Regions from separate parts of the Homo sapiens genome. Here region 1 is linked to region 2. The links are contacts of gene promoters, found by promoter capture Hi-C in blood cells and fetal thymus (Javierre and others, 2016). All regions are on one chromosome and are shown on one strand. The core of a region is centred on a gene start or on the middle of the fragment in contact, and the rest is flanking DNA. Distances in the headings are between cores, read along the strand shown.

Evidence for each region. The method cuts DNA at HindIII sites, captures the fragments that hold promoters and counts their contacts. A CHiCAGO score of 5 or more calls a contact.
Region 1: a contact is called between a fragment that was not itself captured here and the fragment with the promoter of GAREM1 in region 2, in 1 of 17 cell types (megakaryocytes). The highest score is 5.2, in megakaryocytes.

What each region holds. Positions count from the first base shown.
Region 1 is chr18:32,155,034-32,161,764 of GRCh38, forward strand. No RefSeq gene overlaps it. Among named protein-coding and RNA genes, the nearest start is that of MEP1B, 32 kb to the right of the region's middle. RefSeq lists a silencer at 3,149-3,198. The HindIII fragment of the contact is 4,472 bases long and covers 2,659-6,731 here.
Region 2 is chr18:32,469,238-32,475,638 of GRCh38, forward strand. GAREM1 (GRB2 associated regulator of MAPK1 subtype 1) reads right to left here and starts at 1,645. Exons shown (of 6, transcript NM_001242409.2): 1 at 1,071-1,645. The coding sequence starts at 1,191. RefSeq lists a silencer at 1,400-1,919. The HindIII fragment of the contact is 2,356 bases long and covers 1-1,822 here.

The sequences.
Region 1 (6,731 bases), core at 3,645-6,144, 310 kb before region 2:
TGCGAACATTTATTCCTTGATTTAATCCACCACTATTGCAACCCCCATCACTCACTGATTCACCAAAAATTGGGTAATTATGCTACTTGTTTTTATTAATATTTCTTAAAGGTATATATAGCTCACATTTATTTCAATGTTTAATATTAGAAGTGTTTTGTGTCTTTATTTAGAAGTTTGGTGATGTTTCTGTGACCAGAAAAATGCCACAAGAAACTAAACTCTTGTTTATACCAATTAGCCTATGGTAAAATTGGTTTTGTTTTGCTTAAAGTTGCAGTTTCCAAGCACCTATTGATGACATTGAGGACTTATTGTATTTAGAAAAAAATGCCACCCTTATATTTCTCGAATACTCTATAATTTCACTGTACTTTAGGGTCCATGATTTTGCTTGTTTTTCACAATGATGATGTAGATAGGGCAGACATCATCCCCATTTTACAGATTAAGAATCTGATTCATGGTTGATGAGGTTAGATGTCTAATCCAAGGTTGTATGCCAGGTTGATGGTAGGTAGATCCAGAACTTGAACCCTAATCTAAGGCCTTTTTTTTTTTTTTTTTTTTTGAGACGGAGTCTCACTCTGTCGCCCAGGCTGGGGTGCAGTGGTGCAATCTCGGCTAACTGCAAGCTCCACCTCCTGGGTTAACACCATTCTCCTACCTCAGCCTCTTGAGTAGCTGGGACTACAGGCACCCGCCACCACGCCCGGCTAATTTTTTGTATTTTTAGTAGAGACGGGGTTTCACTGTGTTAGCCAGGATGGTCTCGATCTCCTGACCTCGTGATCCGCCCGCCTTGGCCTCCCAAAGTGCTGAGATTACAGGTGTGAGCCACCGCGCCCGGCCAATCTAATGCTCTTTCTTAACACTGAGAACTGTCCATAAAAGGTGGAATTGCCCCTGACTTTGGCTGTTAGGCAGGATACATTTATGAGCTCCACATTCCCCTTCCTCTACATATCTGGGTCTCCTCTCCTAGGAGACCTACTTCTGGGTCTAGGTCTCTAGAGATAGCTACCAGCCACCAAGACCTTTAGATGGTTTACTTTGACATGTCATCCCTGGATTTATCTCCTAGGACTGGGACACAGGAACTTTTAGCTTATTGTACTTATTCATTGAGTGAGTTATTAGTGTGTGCTAGAAACTGTGCTGAACCCTGGACAGACAATATTGATCAGGAAGACATAAGGCCTGCCCGTATGATGTTTTACAGTAGTGGGAGAGAGATATTCTATATCCACACTCACAAACCCTTAGGAGCCTTAGACACTATAAGAGGGCCACACCTTGTGGCAAATGTTATCTGTATAGTAACAACATCCCATAAAAATAAGAAATATGGCTCACAACTCTAAAACTCCAAGTGTGTTAAGTGCTATGATGCTATGAGAGCATATAATAGCAGAATTTGGTTACGTCAGGGAGGTCACAGAAAAGATTCCAGTTAAAGCCAGATCTGAGGGAAGAGTAGGCATTAACTAGACAAAAGTGTTGTACAAAACTAAACTAGTGCTTCTTGTCTTGTCCAGCATGGTAAAATTTTGAACCTCACAATATTTCTCAGACCTCTCTACATGATGAGTAGCCGATTTTTTAATTGTCTTCTGTGGAAGGCTCAGAGTAGCCGATTTTTAACGATTGGGGAAATACACAGTCCTATGAATCCGCTAACAACTCTAAATAGATTTCTAATTTATTAATCACCCAACCTTTAGATACATTTGAGCCATATTTCTTATTTTTGTGGGATGTTATTACTATACAGATAACATTTGCCACAAGGTGTGGCCCCCTTATAGTGTCTAAGGCTCGGGTTTGCTGCCCATGAGTTATCCATCTCTGAGCTAATCTGTGGGCATGTACTGTTGAGACAAGAGAAAACAAGAGCTTTCTTCTCCTCTCTCTTTCCTCTGCTACTAGGTACCAAAAGTCCATTTTTTCAGTGGCTTCTTGGGGACATCAGTGTCAGCCAGTTTGCAGTCCAGTTTCAAGAGTGAACAGGCTGTGAAAAGACCTAGTATTGCTTTAGAATAAGTAATTGTGAAATGGAAAAACTATTAAGGGAAGAGAGCACAAATATTGGGTAATAGCAGTGGTTGGTCAAACTGATTCAGAAAGCCCTTATGGTTCAGTATATTTTATTTGGGTAAAAAGGGAGGAGTTCTCTTAAGAATGTTTAAATACATTATTTTAAAAAAATTGAAACAGAGTCCCACTCTATTGCTCAGGCTGGAGTGCAGTGGCTCATTCATAGCTCATGGCAGCCTCAAACTCCTGGGCTCCAGCCATCCTCCCACCTCAGCCTCCCAAGTAGCTGAGACTACAGGAATGTGCTACTATGACTGGCCAATTTTTAAAATTTGTAGTAGAGACAGGGTCTTACTATGCTGCCTAGGCTGGTCTCAAACTCCTGGGCTCAAGTGATCTTCCTGCCTTGGCCTCCCAAAGCACTGGGATTGCAGGTGTGAGCCATTGTGCCTGGCATAAATACATTCTTCAAAGCACCTGGAGTGCTGTTTGGGCTGGCAAAGCTCTGGGGATCAAGTCCCAGAATGATGCGTGCACTTCCTCACCAAAATAGTGCTGCTTTTCCTTCTGTCTGGGATGTCTAACCTGTCTCCAAGCTTGGCCCTCTGACCTGCAGGCTTAAGCTTCAGCCTGGACTCTTCTGTGAAGGCATTGCTGACCCCTTCAGAGAGATTCTAGAGTGATTTCCCAGGCCCCCCTGTACAGCGGTCCACCTGCATTATTTGCAATTGCCACATGGCCCCACATGTCGCCTCATGAGGCTGGGAACTCCCAAAGGCAGTGGCTAATAGGTGCTCAATAAATGCTTGGGAAAGGAATTCGTTGTTGCTTTTCGGATACTGGGGATTTAAAATAAATATTACAAAGTATTTTGGGAGAAAAATATAATGGTGTCTACTAGAGTTCAAAGCAATGTGCAACTCTGCCATAATTTTAAGCTCTTGGTATACTTGTTATCCTGAATGATGTCAAGTATTGTAATCCAGTTTCGTGAATCTACGACAGGACAACTAGCAGCTCTGGGGGAAGGAAGCACAAAACGCAGAAAGCAAAAGGAACCGCATCAAATTACAAGTAGAGCTAGGCAAGCGGCACATTGAAGAGGCTGCTTAAAACACACACGTGGGATGGCCACAAGGTGGCAGCTTAGAACCGTGACATTACGCATCGACCATTCAAAGACCGAACAGCGGGGAATGTGGCAGGCTGGAGAGTGGAGAGCGGGTTTATTGGGGCAATTAGAACCGGGAAAGGAGAAAGAGACCGTGATTTATTGTATTTGGTGCGCACATCCTTATAATTTTGTTTGCCCTAGAAAAAAGCACAGGCACACACACTTAAATGCATATACACAGCAAAGACTCATCAATTTCACTCTTGAGAAGCGTTAACCCCAGAATGAGTCTCCTGTGCAGTCGCGAGCTGGCTGTTTCCTGAGGTGGCCTCACGTCCTTCGTACCTTTTATGGCGTGCTTTTATAGGCTGTTTAAGAACTTTTTTTTTTTTTGAGACGGAGTCTCGCTGTGTTGCTCAGGCTGGAGTGCAGTGGCACGATCTCGGCTCACTGCAACCTCTGCTTCCCGGGTTCAGGTGATTCTCCTGCCTCAGCCTCCTGAGTAGCTGGGATTACAGGCGCACGCTACCATGCCCGGCTAATTTTTGTAATTTTTTTTTGGTAGAGACAGGGTTTCACCATGTTTGCCAGGCTGGTCTCAACTCCTGACCTCAGGTGATCCGCCTGCCTGCCTCGGCCTTCCAAAGTGCTGGGATTACAGGTGTGAGCCACTGCGCCCGGCCAGGACTTCTTAAGAGTACTTTTACTTTCTCTGGGGTTCATGTAACATATTTACTTTAGAACCTCACTAAGTTGCTACTCTACTCTGCTTATAAAAATATACATATAGAAATCCATATATTATTATAGACTATATACATCTATATTATACGTTATAATAATATGTAGCATTAATTGATGAATCAGGAAACCAGTGCTTTCTACTATGCCTTTGAAATAGTGGGTGCTTAATATATGTCTGCTGAACTGAAGGGAAACAGAATACATATTTTGGAAAATGGAAGGTGTGGACACAGTAGCAGAGGAATATTGCAACACAGTGTAGAGGATCATAAAGGGGCAAAAGGGAGAAGAGAATGTCTACCTCTCTGCCACTTCTCAGAGCTAACCTGCTGTACCCAAGGGTCCATGAAACTCAAGGTCCCATTCCCTAGTTTTTGTTTTGTTTTTTTGTTTGTTTGTTTTGAGACAGAGTCTCACTGTCGCCCAGGCTGGAGTGCAATGGCGTGATCTCCGCTCACTGCAACCTCCGCCTCCCATGTTCAAGCCATTCTCCTGCCTCAGCCTACCAAGTAGCTGGGATTACAAGCGCGAGCCACCAAACCCAGCTAATTTTTTTTTTTTTTTTTTTTTTTTGAGACTGAGTCTCGCTCTATCGCCCAGGCTGGAGTGCAGTGTCTCGATCTTGGTTCACTGCAACCTCCACTTCCCGGGTTCAAGTGATTCTCATGCCTCAGCCTCCCGAGCAGCTGGGACTACAGGCGCGTGCCACCACGCCTGGCTAATTTTTGTATTTTTAGTAGAGATGGGGTTTCACCATATTGGCCAGTCTGATCTCGAACTCCTGACCTCAGGTGATCCACCCGCCTTGGCTTTCCAAAGTGCTGGGATTGCAGGTGCAAGCCACCATGCTCGGCTCTAATTTTTGTATTTTTATTTTTATTTTGAGACAGAGTCTCACTCTGTGCCCAGGCTGGAGTGCAGTGGCATGATCTCAGCTCACTGCAACCTCCACCTCCCAGGTTCAAGCAATTCTCCTGCCTCAGCCTCCGGAGTAGCTGGGATTACAGGCGCCGTCCACCATGCCAGGCTAATTTTTAAAATATTTTTAGTAGAGACGGGGTTTCACTGTGTTGGCCAGGCTCGTCTTGAACCCCTGACCTCAGGTGATCCACCTGCTTCGGCCTTTCAAAGTGCTGGGATTACAGGTGTGAGCCACCATGCCCAGCCCCCTTCCTTAGTTTGATCTATACTATCACCACGTCTACATGTCCTAGTGATTTGAACAGCAGCCTTTATAACATAATCGTGAAACTTTGGATTTCTAGAAGGCAAATGACGTAAGAGTCAATGCCTTGTCTGAATGATCATATTTCCATACCTTGCCCAGAGGAGGCATTTAATAAAGATTGGTTATAAATTTAACCTATCCAATAAGAAGTCCAAAAGCTAAGCACTGAACCACATGAACGTGGGAAATTACTGAATTAAAAGGAAATGTTATTTACAATAAACCATATAGATAGATACTACCTAAAACGTAGCTTTTGTTAAACTTCCAACAAATCGAAATTATATTTTAGTAAAATCATAATTTTTCAGACCAGCAGTAGGGTAAAAACTATGGATATGGGGCAAAGGGTGTGGTATCATCCTGTCTCCAGGAACTTATAACTTACTGGAAAACGATAACATATCTATAAATGCACTTTCAACAACATATGGCAAAAATAAGTGCTATAGATGCTCAGAGGAGGGAGGAAGGCTTCATAGAAGGGATTAGCATTGGCCTGGACTTTGGAAGGTGAATCATAACTGTATAACAGGAGGGGGAAGCATTCTTGGGGCAGAGGCTCAGGAAGGTGTGTTCAGGTGAGGGTGAGTAGAACAGGGTGCCCAGAACAGTTCAGGAGGGTGTGGCACAGGGAGAAAAGACTGAGATGCAGAGGGGCCAGATCATGAGGACGCCTGGGAGTCTGTCCTCAGAGAGTCTGTCCTTTACCCCAGAGGCACTGCAGGCCTTTGAACAGGGTAATGACCTGGTGGAGGCTAAACTTTTGAAAGATTATGCAGGATATATTGATATGGGTATAATTAGAGACTTAGATGTTATTTTGTTTTATAAAAGTCATCCAGACAAGCTGGGCACAGTGGCTCATACCTGCAATCCCAGAGCTTTGAGAGGCCAAGGCAGAAGGATCACTTGAGATTAGGAGTTTGAGACCAGTTTGGGCAACATAGTGAGACACTGTCTCTACAAAAAAAAAAAAATCAAAATAAAAAAAATTTACCAGGCACAGTGGTGCGTTTGTAGTTCTGGCTACTGGGGAGGCTGAGGTGGGAGGATCACTTGAGCCCTGGAGATCACAGCTGCAATGAGCCATGATTATGCCACTGCACTCCAGCTTGCGTAACACAGCAAGACCGTGTCTCAAAACAAAACAAAACAAACAAAAAACAAAAAAAGTCATAAAGTACAACCTGTAGCTATTGTACATATATAAATATTCAAACATATGATAGCCAGTAGGTTTATCATATAATTGGATGACAAAATAAATTTGAGAACCACATTCTATTTTAAATATATTAATTTTTATTAGTTGAAAAGATTTTAAAGATATACAGTATTTGAGAAAATGACAAAAACAAATCTCATGAAATATCTTTCATTTTCACTTTAAATATTTTTTATGAACAAAGTACAAATAATGGCCCACATTTCTTATAAATAGACTAATTTTTAAAGATGTAGCTGGGGAATGGATGATGAATGAAGAGGACAATGACTACGACTTTATTTAGAAGCAAATCCCACCTAAAGTGCCAAGGGCATGGGCTTGCTTTTGAAAGGGGCTCTTTGCAATCAGCTGGGCAGTGGTTTGCTATGCACGGTGGC
Region 2 (6,401 bases), core at 395-2,894:
CCCAGGAAACAAGGAGTAACCCTAGTGCCTGTGACTCGAAATGACATCTTTCTGCTTAGTGTTCTTCTGACCTGGCCTGTGTAGTCACAGCTCTGCCTGCCTGCCAGCCTGGGCCCGTGTACTTCCACAGCTGCCCCACAGCAGGGCAGGCTTCTTTCTGCAAACAGTCTAAAATCGCATGACGCCAAAGCCCACTGAAGTTATGATGAAAACAAGAGAAGACCAAACACACCTAAATTGCCACCTTACGTGTCATCACTCTCCAACTGAAAGGTGTCTACTTGCTTGACAGTATGCGCAACTATGTGTTTGCAGCTGTCACACCGCAGAATAAACAGTTGGAGGAAGGAGTTGGGTGGGTTTCTGGTGGTCAGTTTCAGGAAATACACCCTTCTTAGTTCTGAGCTCAGGTTCCGAATCAATACGTTTTGGAGACTTATTTTTTTTTCCAGACTGGAAATGCGCTAAACCTAATAGTTAACCTTAAGCATGCCATCACTTCTGCTGAAAACATTTTCTACACACAGCCCCAAATTACTTTCAGTTGGGTTAAACAAAACAGACAAGCTGTAATACAAGGTCTCTGAGAAATGTGATCCTTTTCAATGGTCACCCAGGAGCTTTTCCTTTAAATCTGTTTGGCGGGGGATGGGGGAGATAGGGAGGAGAGCACCCAAATTAAGATGCCACCCGGAGCACAATGATATTCTCAAGAAAGTTGCCTAAGATAACTCTTCAGGGTTTCCCTGGTTGAGTAATTCTTGCAGGAGGGTGGGGAGGGATATCTGGCGTCCAAGATTACGATCTGCAGAGGTCTCCCTATGTTGACTTTTTTTTTAGGGCGTCCTTTTTAATTATACTGCAAGGACTCTGATTTCCACCTCCTTGTCTGCTGCTGGGGGGAGTTGAGAGCAACGCGCCAGGGCTGCGGCAGCCGCTCGGGCCAACTCCGGCGCTCAGGGGCGGGCAGCCCACTCCCCGCGGGTCCCACCCTCTCCAGCACACGCGCGCACACCCGCGTGGAGACGGCTGTCCTCGCCCGTCTGCCCCGCGCCCCAGCTGGGACTCACCGTTGTCCAGGCGCGCGATCTGGGGCAGCCGGTAAGTGCTGACCAGGAGGTCGAGCGGCACGGCCACCGAGCTCCACTTCACATCCTTGAGGCTGCAGCCCAGCGAGGGCGCCGGGTCCATCTTCCCCGAAGCCTCCTGTCCCGCGCTCCCCCGCCGCCGCCACCGGCACCACCCGCGCCTCGGCGGCCGCCGCTGCTCGCGCTCGCGGTCTGGGGCGCGCGGGAGGCGCCGGGCAGCTCCGGCCGCGGGCAGCCGGGGGGGCGCGGCGACTGGGGCGGCCCGGAGGGAGGGGGCCGGCGCCCGGCTCAGCTGCCGCTGCGGGGCATGGCTGGGGCGCCCCGCGTGCCCTCACGCCCGGAGAAGACTCAGAGCAGCCGCGCGGCTGCGGGCGGCGGCGGCGGCCCGGGTGGCTGCGGCGGCTCCCGCTCCGCCTCCTCCTCTGGCCCTGGGTCTGCAGCTGCGGCGGCCGCCCGCTCGCCTCCTCCTCCTCTTACCCCTCCTTCCCTCCGCCTCGAGCGTGTGAGGAGGAGCCGCGGGTCTGAGAAACGCCATAGCAGCGCTCCCAGCACTGACTAATCAACAAGGTGCGAGCAACGCCTGCGCAGCTCTGGGAGACACCGCCTCCGCCTCCCAGGCGCCGCCCGCTCCGCCCCCAGCTCGGCCTCCGCCTCCCGCAGCTCCCGCGGCCCGGCAGGCTCGCGTCAGCTCCCCGGCCGGGGCCGCCAGCGCCCGCGGCTCGGCGCGCTCCGCAAGCTTTAGCTCTCGCTCCCCCGTCCGACCACTCGGGCGCCCTGCAGTCTCGCCGGGTGCTGCTGCGCGCCCCGGCTCCTTCCCCGCCCAGGCCCGTCCCCGGAGCCCGGGAATTGCCGAGCGAGCTCAGGTATCGCTCCCTGAGTCGTGGTGTCGGGCACCGTCCGCCTCCACTCCCATCCTGGCAATGCGGTGGCTAAATACAAGGCACAAAAGATACCTTTAGTGGCGCTCCCTCTTGCTTCCCGGTGACCCAGACTTTGGTCAGAAGAGTACCACAGCCCAACGGGGCTGCGGACGGCAGGCGTGGAGCACGCCTTGGCGTTTCCCCTCAACCCTACTCCTCTACCATCGGAGCTGGAAATGACTCCCAACAGTCTCAGCTTTGGCTACTAGATAAGATAAAAAGGGCAAAGCACCGAAAAGCGGAAAGGTGGTGGGTGATGAGTACCCACATACAGGAAGGTGGCCATTCGGTCTAGGACCTTCACTGAGTGAACGAGCTGCTGGAGGCGACGGGAGTTGATGAGGCCACCAAACACCGTAGACACGGAGATGGGAAGGGAAAACTAGGTTACTGGGAGGCTGCTGGGGTCAGCTGTTCTCACCCGCTTTTCCCATTCAGTTCTCTTCTCATCTTAAAGGTTGGGATCATTCTCGTTTTCTAGGTATATGTACCAAGACATTAGGTAGTTTGGCAAGATTTTATAACTCGTAGATGGCCGTGCTGGGATTCAAACCTACAGTTTGCTTTGCATGATCAATCATTCTCTGTCTCTCCCGATGTTTGACACGGCCTGCTCACTGTGGACAGAGCTCAGAATATAAAGGTGGCATGTCCTGCCTTGTATGCTAATCTGCTTTCTTTCTTTCTGTCTTTCTTTCTCTTTCTTTCGCTTGCTTAACATTTTGTTAAAATAGCAGAGGTGAGTGGTTGCTAAGGTTGCGTATCTGCTCTGTTTTCAACACGTATTCAATGTTCAGTGCTTGATAAGGTACAGCAAGTACCCGCTTCGCCAGCCCAAGGGGACTTGAAAACATCCCGCTGCCTTTTCGTGGCCTGGCTTAAAAGGTCTGTGCTAATAAACCACTCCATTAACATTTGAAGAAAAACACAGATTCTTCTACACCCACCTTCCTGATCCTCTCACTTTGAAGCATTAGCGATAATTTTCACAAAATTCATCTGAAAGTTTTGACCTTTGGGTCATTCACATTGATTTTTTGAAAAAGTCTTGGAAAAAAGTGGGAAGTATTTTACTATAGAGTGTATGCAGAATCAGAAGTCCATAAAGTTCTAAGAATTGCTCACATAGAGTGTTTCGGCCGGGCGCGGTGGCTCACGCCTGTAATCCCAGCACTTTGGGAGGCCGAGGCGGGCGGATCACCTGAGGTCAGGAGTTTGAGACCAGCTTGGCCAACGTGGTGAAACCCCGTCTCCCGTCTCTACTAAAAATACAGAAAGTTAGCCGGGCGTGGGGGCAGGTGCCTGTAATCCCAGCTACTCAGGAGGCTGAGGCAGGAGAATCGCTTGAACCCGGGAGGCGGAGGTTGCAGTGAGCCGAGATCGTGCCATTGCACGCTGGCCTGGGCAACAAGAGCGAAACTCTGTCTGAAAAAAAAAAGTTTCAAAACTTTAAAGATTTAAGTGCCAGCTAATTTCTTTTTCTGAATAATTAATCACTTCTGGAAATAAAGCTCAGAATCCAAAAATGACATAGGAAACATCTAAGATTGGGCAGGGTCAAGGGTCTTTCAACCTGTAAGTAGATCCTAAACCCTTATATGGTAGGCTGATTTTTAAAAAAATGACTTTGTTACTTTTATATTCTCTTTAAAAGCTTCAGAGAATAAGAGAAGTAGTTTCCTCTCACAAAAGGACTGGTGACTTTTGACCTAAAGACAAGATAAAAAGTAAAAAGATTAATGTAATCAACTTTTTAAAAATCAATAAAGGACTTACATTAGATCTGTTATTGCTGACCTTGCAGAAAAGGTTTTATTTCAATCTTGAGTATTAAAAGGAAGAAATTTTAGTGAGCTGCAAATTCTTAGTAAGTTTCATGTCCTGGAAGAACTCTTACAGAAGGATTTTATTTGTGAGATGGAGAGTTTTGGTTAAACTGCCGAAAACAAAAACAAAAAGCAGTTGAGAGGGGTAATCTTTCAGTCTGGCTGAACTGTACTTCCAAACATGTTTCTTAAGGTTGTTGGAACAATGCAAACTGTGTATACAAAAGCATTACAACTTGGTGCAGGGGCAAAGCTTACAGGACTTTGAAGTTTATGAAAAGGAACATCCAAGAAAAGTTTTCTTTAAGGCAACAATTGATGCACTGGTCCCTTGTTCCTACTAAGTACCTTTACAAACTGAGATTTGTGAATTAAAATATCAGCTCCAGAGCCAGATGGCTTGGATTTGATTAGTGGCTCTGCTTCTATTTAATGTCATGGGAAACTTGCTGTTTCCTCCTCTGAAAAATGAAGATAATAATAGTACTCATCTCATAGGGTTGATATGAGAATTTAATCATTTAATATACATTTAGCATTTAGAATAGTGCCAGATGCATAGGAAGTGCTATGGAAGTATTAACATTTGCTATTATTATTAAAAACCATTGGCTTTAAAGGGCAAAATTTATAGAAAAGATGAAGAGATAAATGCTGACGATTTGAATAGATTTGAAAAATAAGAAATGATTAGATTTGGGAAAATAGTTATATCAGGCAAGGAGTAGAAGAACACTTTTTAAATGACAAACCTAGCTGGGGGACTTCATTGCAAATCTAGAGTCTGTGGGGTTAATTTATTCCACAGTGAACCCGCCTCCTACCCAGCAGACCCAGGCAGTGATCATGAAGACTCTGTATATGCTATTGATAAGCCCAAAGGTGAATCAGGTAAATGACACTACAGGACTCAAGTGACAGACACTTGCCAGCTTCCTAACTGTGAGTCTACTGTTTATACATGCATAACTTGTTAATTCTCTGCATTATCAGCTTTGCAAGATAAAAATATTACATATTGGTTTTCCTCATATCAGAGTGTCCTGGCTCACATAATATTCTAGCAGTCAAGTGCAATATCAAAGTTCACAGCCCTAGTGATTTTTTAGGTCTCCCCATTCTTTCCCCTTTCACTTAATTGCCATGTGATCCCCAGAGCTAACTTGAAAGACAGTCCCTAGCTAATGCTTTTTGCAGTATCTATATCGTCATTGTCTATGAAATTAAGTGTAGAGCCCTTGGCATGGCGTAGAAGGTTCTTCCCTTATGTGGCTGGGTCTGCCTCCCTAACCTCACTCCTGTTTGGCTACCTTCTAATACCCTATGATCTGGGGTAGCACCTGCTTGTAGTTGCCCAAATGTATCATGGTAATGCATACCCTTGTAGAGCTTGTTCTCTCAGCTTAGAATGCCTTTCTCCTTTTCTCTTACTGTGAAAACTTCATTCCAGCTCCAGCTTCCTGCATTCCATGAGCTGCTGTATCTCCTCCTCCAAGGAGATTCCTTTTTCTGTGTTACCATTGCACCTGCAATACCCTCTTTTGACTGTACTAGTTGCACTCTGATTAATTATCTTCCTATATTAGCTTTGCCTACTAGACAACAATTGACTGTGGACACAAAGAGTTTTTTTTTTTTTTTACCTCTGTTTTACCAGCTCCTATTACCATGCCTGGCACACAGCAAGTGCTCAATTAATGTTTGTTGAATTGAGTAATCAATGCACTGAGTCAACTTCTCACTCTATATTATTTTGTAGGTCACTGCAACTCCTTTTTTTCCCCAAGCCAAATGGTATACAGCTTTAAAATTTTATTTACTTTATTTTTTCATTTCATTTTTTATTTTATTTATTTATTTTTTTGAGACAGGGTCTCTCTCTGTGGCCTAGGCTGGATGCAGTGGCACTATCATGGCTCACTGCAGCCGCCAACTCCTGGGCTCAAGTGATCTTCTTGCCTCAACCTCCCAAGTAGCTAGGACTACACTCATATGCCACCATGCCTGGCTAATCTTTTTTATTTTTTGTAGAAACCAGGTCTTGCTATGTTGCCCAGGCAGGTCTTGAATTCCTGGGCTCAAGCAGTCTACCCACCTAGACCTCTCAAAGTGCTGGGAGCTACCACGCTTGACCTTGTATCCAGCTTTATTAAGATACTTTTCAGCCGGGCCCAGTGGCTCACGCCTGTAATCCCAACACTTAGGGAGGCCGAGGCGGACGGATCACGAGGTCAGGAGATCGAGACTATCTTGGCTGACATGGTGAAACCCCATCTCTACTAAAATACAAAAAATTAGCTAGACATGGTTGCGCGTGCCTGTAATCCCAGCTACTTGGGAGGCTCAGGCAGGGGAATCGCTTGAACCCAGGAGGCGGAGGTTGCAGTGACCTGAAATTGCGCCACTTAACTCCAGCCTGACGACAGAGCAAGACTCCGTCTCAAAAAAAAAAAAGATACTTTTCATAAACAACCATGGTATCAGGCAGGACATGTGCAGACAGTCATTAAGAGTATAGAACAGCTTTCAAATTCTCTCCTTCAATGGACTACTCAAATCAGAAAGCC